Regions from separate parts of the Homo sapiens genome. Here all the other regions are linked to region 1. The links are contacts of gene promoters, found by promoter capture Hi-C in human tissues and cell types (Jung and others, 2019). All regions are on one chromosome and are shown on one strand. Each heading gives the region's core, a stretch centred on a gene start or on the middle of the fragment in contact. The rest is flanking DNA. Distances are from core to core; before and after follow the strand shown. Region 1 holds the start of SALL1 (spalt like transcription factor 1). Region 2 has its middle 230 kb from the start of SALL1. Region 3 has its middle 190 kb from the start of SALL1. Region 4 overlaps LOC107984886 (a long non-coding RNA gene). Region 5 has its middle 140 kb from the start of SALL1.

Evidence for each region. Contacts are between HindIII fragments. The study calls those that stand out against the background at their distance.
Region 2: a contact is called between a fragment that was not itself captured here and the fragment with the promoter of SALL1 in region 1, in 2 of the 25 tissues and cell types used here (H1 embryonic stem cells and mesendoderm cells).
Region 3: a contact is called between a fragment that was not itself captured here and the fragment with the promoter of SALL1 in region 1, in 2 of the 25 tissues and cell types used here (H1 embryonic stem cells and mesendoderm cells).
Region 4: a contact is called between a fragment that was not itself captured here and the fragment with the promoter of SALL1 in region 1, in 2 of the 25 tissues and cell types used here (bladder and mesendoderm cells).
Region 5: a fragment that was not itself captured here is called in contact with the fragment with the promoter of SALL1 in region 1 in 3 of the 25 tissues and cell types used here (dorsolateral prefrontal cortex, pancreas and thymus).

What each region holds. Positions count from the first base shown.
Region 1 is chr16:51,149,732-51,152,632 of GRCh38, reverse strand. SALL1 (spalt like transcription factor 1) reads left to right here and starts at 1,363. Exons shown (of 3, transcript NM_002968.3): 1 at 1,363-1,467. The coding sequence starts at 1,392. RefSeq lists an enhancer at 1,666-2,166. The HindIII fragment of the contact is 9,229 bases long and covers 1-2,901 here.
Region 2 is chr16:51,380,971-51,383,871 of GRCh38, reverse strand. No RefSeq gene overlaps it. Among named protein-coding and RNA genes, the nearest start is that of SALL1, 230 kb to the right of the region's middle. The HindIII fragment of the contact is 5,047 bases long and covers 1-2,901 here.
Region 3 is chr16:51,335,223-51,338,123 of GRCh38, reverse strand. No RefSeq gene overlaps it. Among named protein-coding and RNA genes, the nearest start is that of SALL1, 190 kb to the right of the region's middle. The HindIII fragment of the contact is 5,068 bases long and covers 1-2,901 here.
Region 4 is chr16:51,318,142-51,321,042 of GRCh38, reverse strand. It overlaps LOC107984886 (a long non-coding RNA gene), which reads right to left. Exons shown (of 4, transcript XR_001752175.1): 4 at 1,985-2,901. Among named protein-coding and RNA genes, the nearest start is that of SALL1, 170 kb to the right of the region's middle. The HindIII fragment of the contact is 4,498 bases long and covers 1-2,901 here.
Region 5 is chr16:51,289,183-51,292,083 of GRCh38, reverse strand. No RefSeq gene overlaps it. Among named protein-coding and RNA genes, the nearest start is that of SALL1, 140 kb to the right of the region's middle. RefSeq lists an enhancer at 734-1,244. The HindIII fragment of the contact is 5,467 bases long and covers 1-2,901 here.

The DNA of each region.
Region 1 (2,901 bases), core at 114-2,613:
GGACTGGCCCAGTCCAGTGCCGGGTCCGCCCGGGCTGTGTCTCCCTAGGCCGGTGCTCGCTGCTGCGCTCAGTGTGAGCCGCAGCCCCTCCCCTCCCCCCGGCCGGAGCTGAACTCGGAGCCCAGGCCGGTCCCCGCTCTCCGCCCGCCCGGGGCTCTGCGGCGCCACCGCTGCCGCCGCCTCCCCGCGGAGTGACGCGCCCTGCAGCCAACCGGGGCAGCCGGGGGGGAGGTCCGGGAGGGGTCCTGGGCGGAGCCGGGCCGCCCCCTTATCCCACGGGCTCGGGGCTGCTTCTCCCGAAAACTTCAGCCCTAATTGTCCTGGGAATGTCCGAGGTAGAGAAAGGGAGCGAGGGAGCAAGCAAGAAGCTGGAGGATCAGTGCCCCTGGCGGGGAGGGGATGGGGTGGCGGGAGAACTGCCCCTCCCCCCAGCCACAAACCCATCAGGTTCCCAAACCTTTCCTGGATCCTCTTCTCCGCGCCCCCGCGAGCCCGGGATCCAGGGGATGGAGAACTCGGGGCGGAGGAGCGCCGAGCCAGGCGGGAGGGAGGCCGAGCCGTGGGCGGGAGGCGGACCGGCGTGGGGCTGGCTCTTCCCCACTCGCTTATTTTTTTTTTTAATGGGGGTGGGGGTGGGCTGCTTTCTGGTAGCTCTTAAAGAAACGAAGAAACACTCACGAAACGGGACGCCCTCCCCCCTGATCCCGCCGCGGGACTCCCTCCCCCCGCGGGCCGGCGCGCCTCGCCCCCGAGTTGGGAAGTTCGCAGCGCGCCGGCAGCCCGGGTCCCCAGCCCTCGCCGCCCGGCCCCACCCCCCACCCGGGGCGGCTCAATTCCGGGGAGGGCATGCTAATTTGGGTCGGCCCAGCCCGGGATTGTGGGGGGGGGCGAAGGAGGGAGGGAAGAGGGAGGGGAGAGGGAGAGAGCGGGGGGCGCCTGCCGGGGCGCCGGGCCCGCAGTGGAGAGGAGGCCGGCCCCCGGCGGCCGGGCCGCGGAGTCCCGGGCGGTCGCAAAGAGGGTTAACCCAGTGTCGGGCGGCGCGGCGCGCAGAGCCAGCCCCGCGGCCGGCTTATTGGGCCAGCGCGCGGAGAGACAGGGGTCTGCAGCAAATCACGAACTAATTGATTAAGGCGAGCGGGTTTGAATAGCGCTGGCCCGGTGCCAATCGCCTTTCAAAGAGCCCCTCTATGATTAATCGCAATGCATTATTGATAATCATAATTATAGCAGGACACATGCGCGCTGCGCCCGGGGCCGGGGAGCCGGGGAGGGGGCGGGCGGGCCGGCGGGCGGGGGGAGCCGCCGCCGCCGCCGCCGCTCGATTTCCGTAATTTTGAGAAGATTTTTTTTTAGTAATTTTTTATTCTGCCCCAGCTGATGTTTGAGCCAGCATGTCGCGGAGGAAGCAAGCGAAGCCTCAACATTTCCAATCCGACCCCGAAGTGGCCTCGCTCCCCCGGCGAGATGGTGAGTGCTCCGGCCCGCGCCGTGGACACACACACACGCACTCACACTCACGCACACTCGGACCCACTCACACGCGGCTGGCCCCCGCGCCCCCTACCTCACCGCCGCCGCGGCCCCGATTGCTTCTTCCACTCGGCGTAATTTTTTTTTTCTTTTTAATTTTCAATGTGCCTTTGCTGGGCTTTCCCCCGCTGCCCCGGGGAAAGCGAGCACATCTCCCGGCAGGATCTTTCCGGAGTTGTTGGGTCCTCCCGGGGGAAGGAGGGCGGGCATGCCGGCCTGGCTTCTCCGTCCCTGCTTTTCCGGGGATCCCAGCCGCGGCCAAGACCCGGGAGCCCCATGAGGCGTGGGTGCGGGTGGAGGTCGCCCCGGCCTGACCGCACGGGGCCCCTAGCGCTCCCGGCGCCGGCCCCAGGGCACCCGGCCCGGCCTCCGCCGCCCGGCCTTGCTGCCAGCGGTAAGGAAGTTTACTTCGGGCGCTGGGCTGAACTCCGAGCGTGGGGGAGTTCGCTGCGCCCCCCTGCCCCCACGCACACTCCCCCTCGGCCTGCGAGGCAGAACCGGGTGTCTTTGGAGGTTCAGAGCTGCAAGAAGATGGGGACTGGTGTCGGGGCGCCAGCGCCTGACCCGCTGGGGTTGCGGCCGGGGTGGAGAGTGCTGCTGGCCGCCAGTTGTTCCGGAGACGGTGCAAACGGACGGGGAAAGTGTCGGGGTCTGGCTCGCAAAATTTATCTCCGCATCTCTTCCCACAACACTTGCACCCTCTGCCCCCCAAAATCTTTCTGGTCGGTATGCGCCCTCTGCGGATCGTGGTGCTCCCTACTTCCAGGGGGGTCAGGGAAGAAGTCATAGAATAGTTTTCCAGGTTTGCGGGTGGCCAGCCAGAGTGGAATCCCCCCTGAAACAGGGGCACTTGTTTTCTCCGATGGAGGCGACAACTGTGGGTCCCGAAGGGGCTGAACAAGTCCAGAACAAAGTTTGTGTGTGGGGGCTATGGCAGAGAGTGGAAGAGATCCGGGCAGGGAGTTGGGGTACAAAGGGAGGACACCTGGAATCCCTCCTTGCTCCTAAAGGTGTTTCACGGTACCGGCCTCAAAGCTCCCAGGCCTAGCGCCCGAGGCGGTGTAGCGGCGCCCGGACTCGGGTCCCCGGGTCGTCCCGGCACGATGCTGGCCTCTCGGCTGTGGGAGGACGCACAAGGAGCAATCTCGGCGGGGTCTCAGCGGCTCCGGATGCCACTCGGGATGCCCACGCCCTAGGCGGCATTTTGGGGTGTGAAGGAGGGAGCTGGGCCCCGACAGAGCTCCGAAGCGTGACCCTGATCGGCACCTCAGCCCACTAAGCTGCGGCCGCCCGGGCCCCCAGGTCCCCGGCTCGTTTCCCAGAGGCCTGCCTCTCGGTAGAGCTGGGGCACAGTGAAGCGAAGGGACCCCC
Region 2 (2,901 bases), core at 227-2,726, 230 kb before region 1:
AAGTCCAAAGAATCACTTATATCAGATCAGCTTATTCACGTGTGATCCTCTGGACCAGGAGGTTGGCTGTGCTGGTTTGTTTAGCATTGTCACTTGATCCACTCCTACAGCCAGGAAAGGAAGTGATAGCCTCTAAGTTGTGAAGCTCCCAAACAAAACTTGGGCCCAGGCTCATCCCTAAATATGTGGGGATCCCAGGAAAGAATATAAATAGAAGCCCACCCTCCATATGTATGAAGATTTTTAAGTTATCAATCAAGCTAACAAACAGTTTAATAAAATATGTTCTACCTGCCCTGGGTTGCCAGATTAAAAAGACTTCCTAAATTTTTAGTTGCTTAATCTGGCAACCCCACTTCTACCTTGAAAAATGCCTTCATAGTTACAACACATTGAAGAATAAGGGTGAAGCTGCCTGTGAGTCCCTCTGATGTCACCCAGGAGAGCACAAAGAGAAGCAGGGAAGGGGTTCTCCTTGTTCGTGGGAATAATGTTTTGTTATGCCAAAACCTACCACATTCTTCCTATCTGGGAAGAAGATGTGTGTAATTTGTCTTTTATGTTACCTAAAAGCTTCCATCGCTGAGTTCTTCCTGCTCTCCACAGCACTGTCTTTCTCTGACTTCAACAGTGGGGCACCCTCAGATCTTCCTGGCATTCAGGCCCATCTGCATGTTGTTTTGAGGAAACATGACTGGAGAGGTGGAGAAGCATTTCCCTGGGGCCTGAACTGTATTAGCCACAGAAGCAGACTAGGTCATGCTGTGCCAGGGCTAAGCACCAGATCCACATGATAGAGGCAGCTATGTATTCTGTCATAAGTGTATTCTTATGCATATGTTTGTGATTTGTAGAACTCTCTCAAGCTGAGGGCACAGGCCAGAGGCCTTTTGTGTCAGGTCTAGGGACAGCACTGGGCTTTTTCATTCTAGACATACATACAGCAAGACCACGTTTCCTAACCTCTTTGGGCCATGTGATAGAGTTATGGCTAGTGAATGTTGGCTACTTCTTGCCCTGACCCATGAAAATCTTCCACAAAATTCTTTGCACTCTCTTTTTCCCCATTCACTGGATAAATGGAAAAGATTCTAAAACCCTAGTGGAGAATAGGATAACAGATGGAATAACTTCAATACCTGAATGACTGCCTGGAGCAGAGCCTCCCTTCAACTTCCACCTCCAATTGAATTTTACCCAAGCAAGAGATCTCTGTGATGTCAAGCTGCTGAGCTGTTGGTTTTTCTCTGTTAAGCAAATTGTACTACCTTAACTTGTGCAAGGGATGACGTGAAGAGGGATAGAGAGAATGTTTGCTGGTGTGGCAACTAATAAGCTAATGTCTACCATGATTACCTCCGAACAGCTCTTAGGCATATAGCAATAATAGTCAAGTGACACCTATTACCTACATTCCCAGCTGTGTCACCAGAGGTCTTTTCACATTACAAAATCCAGAACCATTTAACCTAGAGTCTGCATGGTTTATGTAATGTACCTAACACGGCACTCTGCTCATGTGACTTAGAGCATTGGCATGCAGAGAATTCAGGACCTGGAGTTGATTTTCCAATGCTTGGAGGTCATATTCTTATCAATGTGATTTTAAGCTATGAACTGAAAAATCAAAAACCAATCATGTAATATGTGGCTACAAAAATGTCAGTGTGGGCCCACAGTTAAGAGCTGGTAGGAAACACAGCCTGTTGTCAAAGACTCAACCAGGCAAGCAGCCTCTCTTTTTAAGGGCAAACACACAGAAGTTTTTGTCCATTTCCTCAGCCTCAATGAACTGTATTTGAAATCACCTCCAATGCACTATTGTTTGGAGTGAGGGTGTGGGGAGGTAAGAGTTTCCTCAAAAGTTCCTGAAGATGGAGTTTTAAAATGCATAGACTGAACTCAATGGTGGTGGGGATCATCAGGGGTGGGAGGGTTATGGAGCTTCTTTGACCAGAGGACAGTATCAAAGGAAGGCATAAAGCAGAATGGTAAACAATCTTGGGAAATCTGTAATAATTTAAAAAGAAACATGTAGGGTCAGGCATTTCAAAGAGAAGTATCAAAGTGTCAAATAAGAATAAATTTATAAAGCCAATACAGATTGATTGGTCCCACTTGTGGGGATTCCAATCTTCTTTAAATGCACTACCTTCTTTAAATGCAGTAAAGTCTTTTCCTGTGTTTGAGATCACGATGGCCACTCAGTGCACTACCATCCCCTAACACAGCATAGGGATTTAACATTGCCCAACAACCTGGAGTCAGGTCCTGCCAGGAGAGCCTGAAGTAAAAAGAGAGGCACAATTGCCAATTCTGTTTTAAATCAAGCTTGAGAGTCTTGATGTGTGTCTAAAACGTTCAGCAAAGAGTTAAACAAGAAACTATAAAATATGATAGAAACAATATGAGATCTAACATCTCAACAGTTGCCAAAACTAGCAAATAATCAAAATCTGACTACAAAACCTCTCCAGATCCATAATGGCACCAATACCAGCTTAAGAACAAAGCTGCCCAATATATTTTTTAAATCCCTCTCTTCTCCACTCATCTCCTGACCAAATGTTGGCAACGAATTGGCCTGCAGAATTTTGAGTTGTAAAAGGGTTCAGAGATTAACTGGAGCAGTAATTCTGAAATTGGGGGAGGAAAGGTACCACCCCCTGGGAGATGGGCACATATCAGAATCATGGAAGTGGATATTTAAGGGAATATTTAATGCTGTAATTGTATACTAGAGGCAGGAAAGAATTTTGTTTTCCTAGAAGACACACAAAGAAACACTATGAAAATACCCTTAACTGATGGAGAAATGAGACGTCCTCCCTGCCAACCGGGAAGATTCTAATGGAGGTGAAAGAAAGGATGTGTGAGGTGTTAAAGTTATTAAAAGGGGAT
Region 3 (2,901 bases), core at 224-2,723, 190 kb before region 1:
TTTCCCAGAACCTATGAACGTGACCTTATTTGGAATAAAGAAATCTCTGCAGATGTAATAATGTTAAAGACCTTGAGATCTTTGGATTATCTAAATGGGCCTTAAATCCAATGACAAGTGTCCTTATGAGCGACACACAAAGGAGAGACACAGGCTACGTAAAGATCAAAGCAGTAACTGGAGTTAGGCAGCCAGGATGTCACCCACAAGCCAAGGGATGCCTGGAGCCGCCACCAGGGGCTAAAAAAGACAAAGGAATGTTCTCCTCTAGAGCCTTCAGAGGGAGTGTGGCCCTGCTAATGCCTTGACTTTGGACTTCTGGCCTCCAAAACAGTGAGATGATACATTTCTATTGTTTTAAGCCAGCAAGTTTGTAGTCATTTAAGGCAGCTCTAGCAGGCTTTAAATTATAATACAAATGCTTCAAGAAGGGCAGAGGAGGAATTCTAATACCTATGTGACCAGTGAGAAAAGCAAGATCCTGCTCTTATATAAGTTAATCAAAAAGTGTGGTCTACTTGGACCCAAAGATTTTTCAGTAGATTTGCATGCCCTAAATGTAGTCCCTGAAATTGTGAGAGATTAGGGAGGCTCATCAACAAGCCAGTGAACCACTCCTGTGAGCGGTTGACAGAAGAATGCAAGCTAAGGTGTAAGAGTATCTGAAATAGCCAGGGTACAGCATATGGTGAGAAATGTGACCCAAAGACCTTGAACTGCAGGCTGAGAAGCTTGCTCCTGGCCTGTTAAAACACCTGTTTGCCAAAGTTGATTCTTTGGATTAGCAGTCAACAGGATTCATTCATACTACAATAATTGAATTGTCAATCACTGGCCTTGCCAAGGACCGTCAGAAAACCTGTGGACTGAGCACAGCTAAGTTGATCAGACCAGCTGCGGTGACGCAGAACACCACCTTGATAGAATCTCAATATGGGGACAATTAAGGAAGGCATTGATGGGGCTTTAGGGCCAGGGTGAGTGATTTTAAGGGGGGGTCTTACAAGGTAGGAGAGCTATTGGCACAGGACAGAATTTCTAACAAGTGGTTTCGAATTAGCAGACAGAGTGAGGCAAGGGTCCTGAAGCAAACTTTGATGAGCAAGAAGTCAGTCATCAAAACTGATAAAAAGTAAGTGTTTTGGTTGATTCACAAGAGCAGGTATTTCCTGGAGCTAGCAGCTAAGTGATTTCTGCTTGATCCCGATATTGTCTAACATGGACTGAGAGAGGCATGCTGGCCTAAGCATGCTACAACTCACTACAACAAATATGTAGTGAGTTGAGGATTCACCATGTTACAGGCACTATTCTAGGTGCGTGTGCCTGTGCATGCGTGCACGTGCCTGTTAGTGCGTGCGTGTGTGTGTGTTCATCCTTAACTCCATAAAGCTTGAATTCCAATAGGAATGTGGGGAGGACAGAAACAGAATATTCAATATACACATGTGACAAACTGAATTTGAGAAAGTGCTAAGTTCCAAGGAGAAAGACAAAACAGGAAAAGAAAATGGAGATGGTGATGGGAAAAGAAGAGTGAACGATATTAAGTGTCGTGGGACCAATCGCCCTGTGGCCACCTAAGCTTGGAGAGTGTTTGGTGAAACAAAGTTAAATAGACTTCATCACCCCAGAACATCCAGGAGTCTTATGTTTTTCAGTGTTTCTTAAGAGTCTCCAAGAAGAGGATAAAGGATACTGCATTGTCTAAATGTATTTTGCTTCTGTAGCCTTCCTTCCACAGCACCTCACTAATGACCTTTTAATCATTGGGAAAATGTTTAAGGAAGACACCTGTAGGCAGAGGACCGCCATCAGGTGTGCAGAACCACTGGCTTGAAGGATCTGCAAGCCAGGAGGGAGGTGCTGGCATGACAGTCCAAGCCTCCGGCTGGGGTGGGATACAGGTGTGGAGAAGTGACAGAGGCTGAGGATGGGAGAGTGTGACAACCCATGAGCTTGTGCCAGAATATCGGGACCATTCTACCCAGGAGAGGTGGACACTTACCTCAGTTTTTCTCTGTGCTTTCTGTTCCTATCACAGAATTGGGTTTAATGTTTGTTGAAAGAATAAAGAGATATAATGGATTAGAGAAGAAAACTGGGTAGATGGCATCCAAACTTAATCAGTTTGTGGAAAACGATGGGGTTACCCATTTTTTTATTTGCTTTTTTTAAATTATTATACTTTAAGTTCTAGGGTACATGTGCACAATGTGCAGGTTTGTTACATATGTATACATGTGCCATGTTGGTGTGCTGCACCCATTAACTCATCATTTACATTCGGTATATCTCCTAATGCTATCCCTCCCCTCTCCACCAACCCCATGACAGGCCCCTGTGTGTGATGTTCCCCTTCCTGTGTCCATGTGTTCTCATTGTTCAATTCCCACCTATGAGTGAGAACATGCGGTGTTTGGTTTTTTGTCCTCGCGATAGTTTGCTGAGAATGATGGTTTCCAGCTTCATCCATGTCCCTACAAAGGACATGAACTCATCCTTTTTTATGGCTGCATAGTACTCCATGGTGTATATGTGCCACATTTTCTTAATCCAGTCTATCATTGCTGGACATTTGGGTTGGTTCCAAGTCTTTGTTATTGTGAGTAGTGTCACAATAAACATACATCTGCATGTGTCTTTATAGCAACAAGATTTATAATCCTTTGGGTATATACCCAGTAATGGGATGGCTGGGTCAAGTGGTATTTCCAGTTCTAGATCCTTGGGGAATCACCACACTGTCTTCCACAACGGTTGAACTAGTTTACAGTCCCACCAACAGTGTAAAAGTGTTCCTGTTTCTCCACAGCCTCTCCAGCACCTGTTGTTTCCTGACTTTTTAATGATCACCATTCTAACTGTTGTGAGATGGTATCTCGTTGTGGTTTTGATTTG
Region 4 (2,901 bases), core at 239-2,738, 170 kb before region 1:
CTCCCTCCTATTTTTAAGCTTAAACTCCTTCTAGAGTAATCTATTCCCACCACCAGCCCCCATGTCTTAGGGATGCTAAGTGACTTCTTCCTTTTTTACAACCTGCAATAAGTCACAAGGTGAATAAAGCCAAGGTTCAGGCCTAGACCTGGTTAGTAAAGTTCTTCCAGGCTCTGGAAGCTAAAATCCAGGCTCCCACTAAAACCTGGGGGCTGAGAGTCCAAGAAGGGTCATTTCTAGACCCCTCACACGTCTGTAATCCCAGCACTTTAGGAGGCTGGTGGATCACTTGAGGTCAGGAGTTTGAAACCAGCCTGACCACCATGGTGAAACCCCATCTATACTAAAAATACAAACATTAGCCTGGCGTGGTGGTACACGCCTGTAATCCCAGCTACTCAGGAGGCTGAGGCAGGAGATTCACTTGAACCCAGGAGGCGGAGGTTGCAGTGAGCTGAGATCACACCACTGCACTCTAGCCTGGGTGACAAAGTGAGACTGTGTCTCAAATAATAATAATAATAATAATTCAATACATTTGTAGCTAGGTCAAACAAGTGGATATCATTTTCCATTGCCAAAAAGTTGAGTCCCTCAAAGTACCAAGCCTGCAACCTAGAAAAAAAAGTGCTCATCTATCTTTTTCTCTTCCACTCAGCAAGAGCTCTAGGAGATCCTTGAGATAACAGGGCAATTAATCTCCTTTCAATAACTAATAGGAGTTAGTGGAAGTAGCTCTGATCAGAGAATGGGAAGGAATTGAAGCAGGCAGGATCCCAGTCTCTCCACCTCCATCAGGTGGAACAGCTCAGCGCTTGTCCACACTACACATTGAACTTCTACCTAAACTCAATTAAAGTGTTTCATTGATTAAAATATTTTAAAAAGTAAAATAATATAGAAAACCACTGAATTTGGCTTCCAGAGTAAATTTTCTGAGGAAAAAAAATTACTGTTGAGGGGGGGAAAATAGTGTTTCTAAGATTTGTCCAGACATTACATACGCAGGCACACACATACACAAAATGCCATCAACACAGAACATCGACATTTAAAAAAAAAATAGAGATGGGTTCTTGCTATGTTGCCTGGACTGGTCTCTTGAACTTTTGGGCTCAAGCGATCCCCTTGCCTCTGTCTCTCAAAGTGTTGGAATGACAGGTGTGAGCCACCATGCCCGGCCAGCATTACCTCTAGATTCAGATCATTCAATCATTTAATAGACCCTGAGGCAAGGCCAACTGAGGTATTATTTATAACCTACCTCATTAATCCTCATCCCCAAATACTTGATGTATACTTGCTTTAAATGTCACTGCCCCATAAGTAAAACTTTAGTTTTTATTAAGCAAAACCTTAAGAAAGTTAATTATTAATTAAAATTTAATATTTATTAATCAACATCTTATATTTAAGAAAAAATAAAAGCTAACTTGGGGGTCTTGTTAATAAATGGCAGATTCTCTGGCCTGCCCCACCTCCCCCAAGATTCTGTTTTAAAAGGTCTGAGGTGGGGACTTAGAGCCTGCCATTATAAGAAGCCTCCTAGCTTCTTATAATAGACAATACTGTAAGAAACACCACTTAGGCTGGAGCCTCTTGAGCTGGCAAGATGATTGTATATAAGTGATGGTTAAGGAATCGCTCCCAGTAGAAACTATCAGAAAAGTGGAAGAAGCAGGACAGGGAAGGGGAGGAACTTAAGCCAGGCTGTGACTTCAGGTAAAGTCCCAGCTTCAGTAAGACCCTGTAGGGGAAGCCCTCGGCCTGCATTCCTACTGGATCAAAGTGGCTCATTCTCGGCTCACTGCAAGCTCCGCCTCCTGGGTTAACGCCATTCTCTTGCCTCAGCCTCCCGAGTAGCTGGGACTACAGGCGCCCGCCACCACTCCCAGCTAATTATTTGTATTTTTAGTAGAGACGGGGTTTCACCATGTTAGCCAGGATGGTCTCCATCTCCTGACCTCGTGATCCGCCCACCTCGGCCTCCCTAAGTGCTGGGATTACAGGCGTGAGCCACCGCACCCGGCCAGGGCTCTGCATTTTGCGGGTAAAGAAGCACCACAACGTGAGGGAGGTCCTAATGGAAGTTGAAGATATATAGGTGTGAATAATTAATCAGAGGGGATCTGGGTGGATCAGGCAGGTAGAAGAAGGGGATGTGGTTGGAGTGGGCAGCAGAGGTACCATCACAAACTGCAGGCTATCAAGTGGGTTAGGCCTAGGAGGCCACAGTTTAACAGCACATTCAGTCTAAGAGGCTCCTTTGCTGAAAAATCAGTGCCAACAAACATGGAAAAACAAAAAAGCCCAAGGAAATATTTATGCAAGCTAGGTTGGATGAATAAATAATAAAGGAATATCCAAGATTAAAGTGTTGCTGTACTCATGCAGTGGTAATTTCATGTAAAGTCAAAGGTCCCTCAAATATGACACTGTGATTCTAAAGATTTTTCTATTCCATTGGCATTGCATCTTGCTGACACTCTTTGAAGGAAGCTTTATGGAATAATTTCCCATCTCACTGCCTCTTTCCACTATGGAGTGTTCAACCTGTTATCCTTGTCAACTTCATTCATCTCAGTCTTTCTCCTCTGCACCACTTTTATATTTCTACAATTCTGATGATCACACTTATCTCTCTTGCTCCTGGTACTGAACCATAAACATCTTGAGAGTTACGATCATGTTAACTTATCAATACACCTCGGGGACAACAGCAATGGTCTTCACAAACTCGGAGCAGATAATCGAGGCTTGCAGGTTGACTGAATTATTCACAGTCCAAAGCTTTACTTTGATAGTTCCATGCAAGCAAAGTTTTTCCTAGACTTCCATTCTATTGAATTCCTTAGGTTTATCAACCAAAGAATCCTTTAGGTGATTAATCCTAATTCCTTA
Region 5 (2,901 bases), core at 228-2,727, 140 kb before region 1:
TTGAAAATAGAAATACATTATTTAACAGATATAAAGCCCTCCAACAGAAAAACTTGAAATAATATACCTAACAAAATTGGAAGGAGGACATGAGGAGAATTAGTTCAGACCCTCATCTTTCTTATTAGGAAGCTGACAAACACTGTTCAGAATTCATAGACCAAGAAGTAGAGTTGTGTGCATTGCATGTGGACATTTGAAATCAACTTGGAGAAACTAAAAATAGAAACAATCAAATATGGTTCCTCTGTGGAGTAGATAGAGTATAAAAGGTAGGGAAAAGGGATGCTTTTCTTTTCCACTTTACACCCATATTTCCCCCCTCAGATCCACCTTTGGAGAAGAAAAACGTTGCCCCAGCTGTTGGGCTACTGCCTACAGTACTAGACAGTCCTCAGCTATCAGCCTTCTTCAGATAGTGCCTCAGCTAAAGAAAGCTGCCTCGCCCAAGTCCCTTCCTTCTAGAGGTAGTCTACATAAGATATTTAGTCTAGAGCAGTGATGTAAAGTCCTGGTTTCCTCACTCAACTAAGGACCATTCTGAAGAGCCAGCCCAGCTTCAGAGGTCCCCATGGAATCACTGCATTACTGTGACAGCATCACAGCCCAGCCACTCCCTCAGCCCCAATTCTGCTTCCGCATTTTCCCTCACAGGCGTCGATCTCAAGAGTCTTCCTTTATAAACTTCCCACTTGATAATCTCTATCTCAGAGTCTGCTTCCTAAAGGACCCAATTTGGGATAGACCTGTTTTACACTAACTTTTTAAAAAAACCATTCCTAAATTAATTTTATAAATGTAAGCACAGAGCTATGTGCATGCTTTTATTGATTTGTTTTCTTCTAGAATAAAGGTTCATTTAAAATCTGAGGAAAGATAAACTTTATTTTGAGAAAAATGCTCTAAGAGGCTGTCTGCTTATGCAGAGTGGCACCAACTTTCCCCATCTATGATGCAGAGGTTGAAGGCACTGGTGAGCTAAGCTGCTTTGCATTGTAATAGAAAAGATTGCATTCTTGAAGCACAGCTGGCCTTGCATTCTCTCAGCGTACCTTAGCGGAGTATCTTTCAACTGCAGGGCTTGTTGGTGAGGGTATTTTGGTTTGTTTTATTTTTAACTGACACAAAATTGTACATATTTATGGGATACAAAGTGATATTCTAAACTCAATTGGGAAGGTCACACCCAAGGTCTCTTCTTAAAAGAATAAGGGTGTGTTGCTATTCTGTCCAAATAGAGGAACACATTCATATTGTCAGAAGCATCGCATGCCATGGGAAACTATGAGGCCTTGGTAATAACTTCCAGTGATTTCCCACGACATGAAAATCCAATTCAAACTCTTAATCAAGTCTTACCAGGCCCTAGGAGATCCTGCCTCCACCTATGTTTCTGCTTCATCTTATATCACCTCTCCCCCTATTCATGACTCTAGAGCCACACTGCCTCATTGCATCCTTGAAATCCACCATGCTGATTTCTGCCTCAGAACATTTGCATAAGCCATTGTCTTGCTTAAAATGCCTGAAATATTCTTCTCCTGAATCTTTGTTTAGCTGACTCTATCTTGTCAATTCAGGTGTCTGCTATAATGCTGCCTTGGCAAAGAGACCTTCCCTGACTATTCAATAGAAAGCAATGCCCTCTTCCTTCTCTATGGCATCACTCAGCTTTCGTTTCTCCAGAGCACTTAGCACCAACTGAGGTTATCTTATGTTTCTTTACTTGTTTAGTCTCTTCTCTCCTTGCTTCCCAGAAGGGAACCTTAGAGCAGGAACTTCCTTTGACATGGCCTTGCTGTTTTTACAGAATCTTCAGCAATGCTGGGCCTTACCTGTTGCTCAATAAATATTTATTGAATCAGCAAATATAAAGCTATATGAATTTAGTAGGTTTAGAAATCTCACCCCAAATTAGGAGGAAAGCCTTGTATTTTTAAAAAAATTAGAAAATAGGTTCATAATTCTGAAATACCCTAAGTGTTGTCAACTTAACTAAGTGGTGCTTGTGACACAAAATGCCTTGGAAACACTGATGAAGCTATTGTCCTTCTCCTCAGGAACAAAAAAATGTATATATATTTTCTTGTATATCCACTAAATATGATGCGTGCAATTTCAAGATTTCTTCCCCCAGGTTGAGAAGCCCTACTTTAAAGACTATGTGAAAACCATTTGTAAATGGCACCAAGTTAGCAGGCAAATGAGTGTTGCAGGAGTAACTGCATGTAATTTTCCCCTTCTATGGTCTACACCCATTTAAACAGCTCTGGCTAAATGGGAGCCACCTCATGGAGCAAGCAAAACAGGGTCAGGCAAGCAGAAGGCCTTAAGAGGTCATCTTCTCTAACCTCTTGCTGGGCATGACTGCTCGTCCAAACATCTCCAACGGGCTCAATGATCTTATCAATGGCCTCTTGGCCTCAGTTAACCTCTCTAAAGAGATAGTAGCCCCATCTAATATAATTTATCTTTAAACACATCAGTCTCCTGCATTTGACTATAAATTCATTGAAGACAGGTTTACCTAAGAGTCTCGAGTGCTGAGTTAGCACAAAACTTCAATGTTTGCAAAGCAGATACTAAGTACCAGGCATTGGGCTCAGAACCTTACACTAATAAACTATTTTAAATTTTAAAAACTTAATACTTTTCACAATCCTAAGAAATATAATCTATCATTTATTTGCCCATGTGTTTATTATTTTACTTTCTTTACTGGAATGTAGGTTTCTTTGGAATTGTCAGTTACAAGTGAATCCAGTAAATATAGCTGAATAAGTGAGTGAATGAATGAATGTATGAATGATGACTCCATGCAGAAGAGAACAAAAAGATAAGAAAGCTCTTTCACTCTTAAGTCAGACAAATAGTGAGCAAAGAAAAACTATAAATAAACAG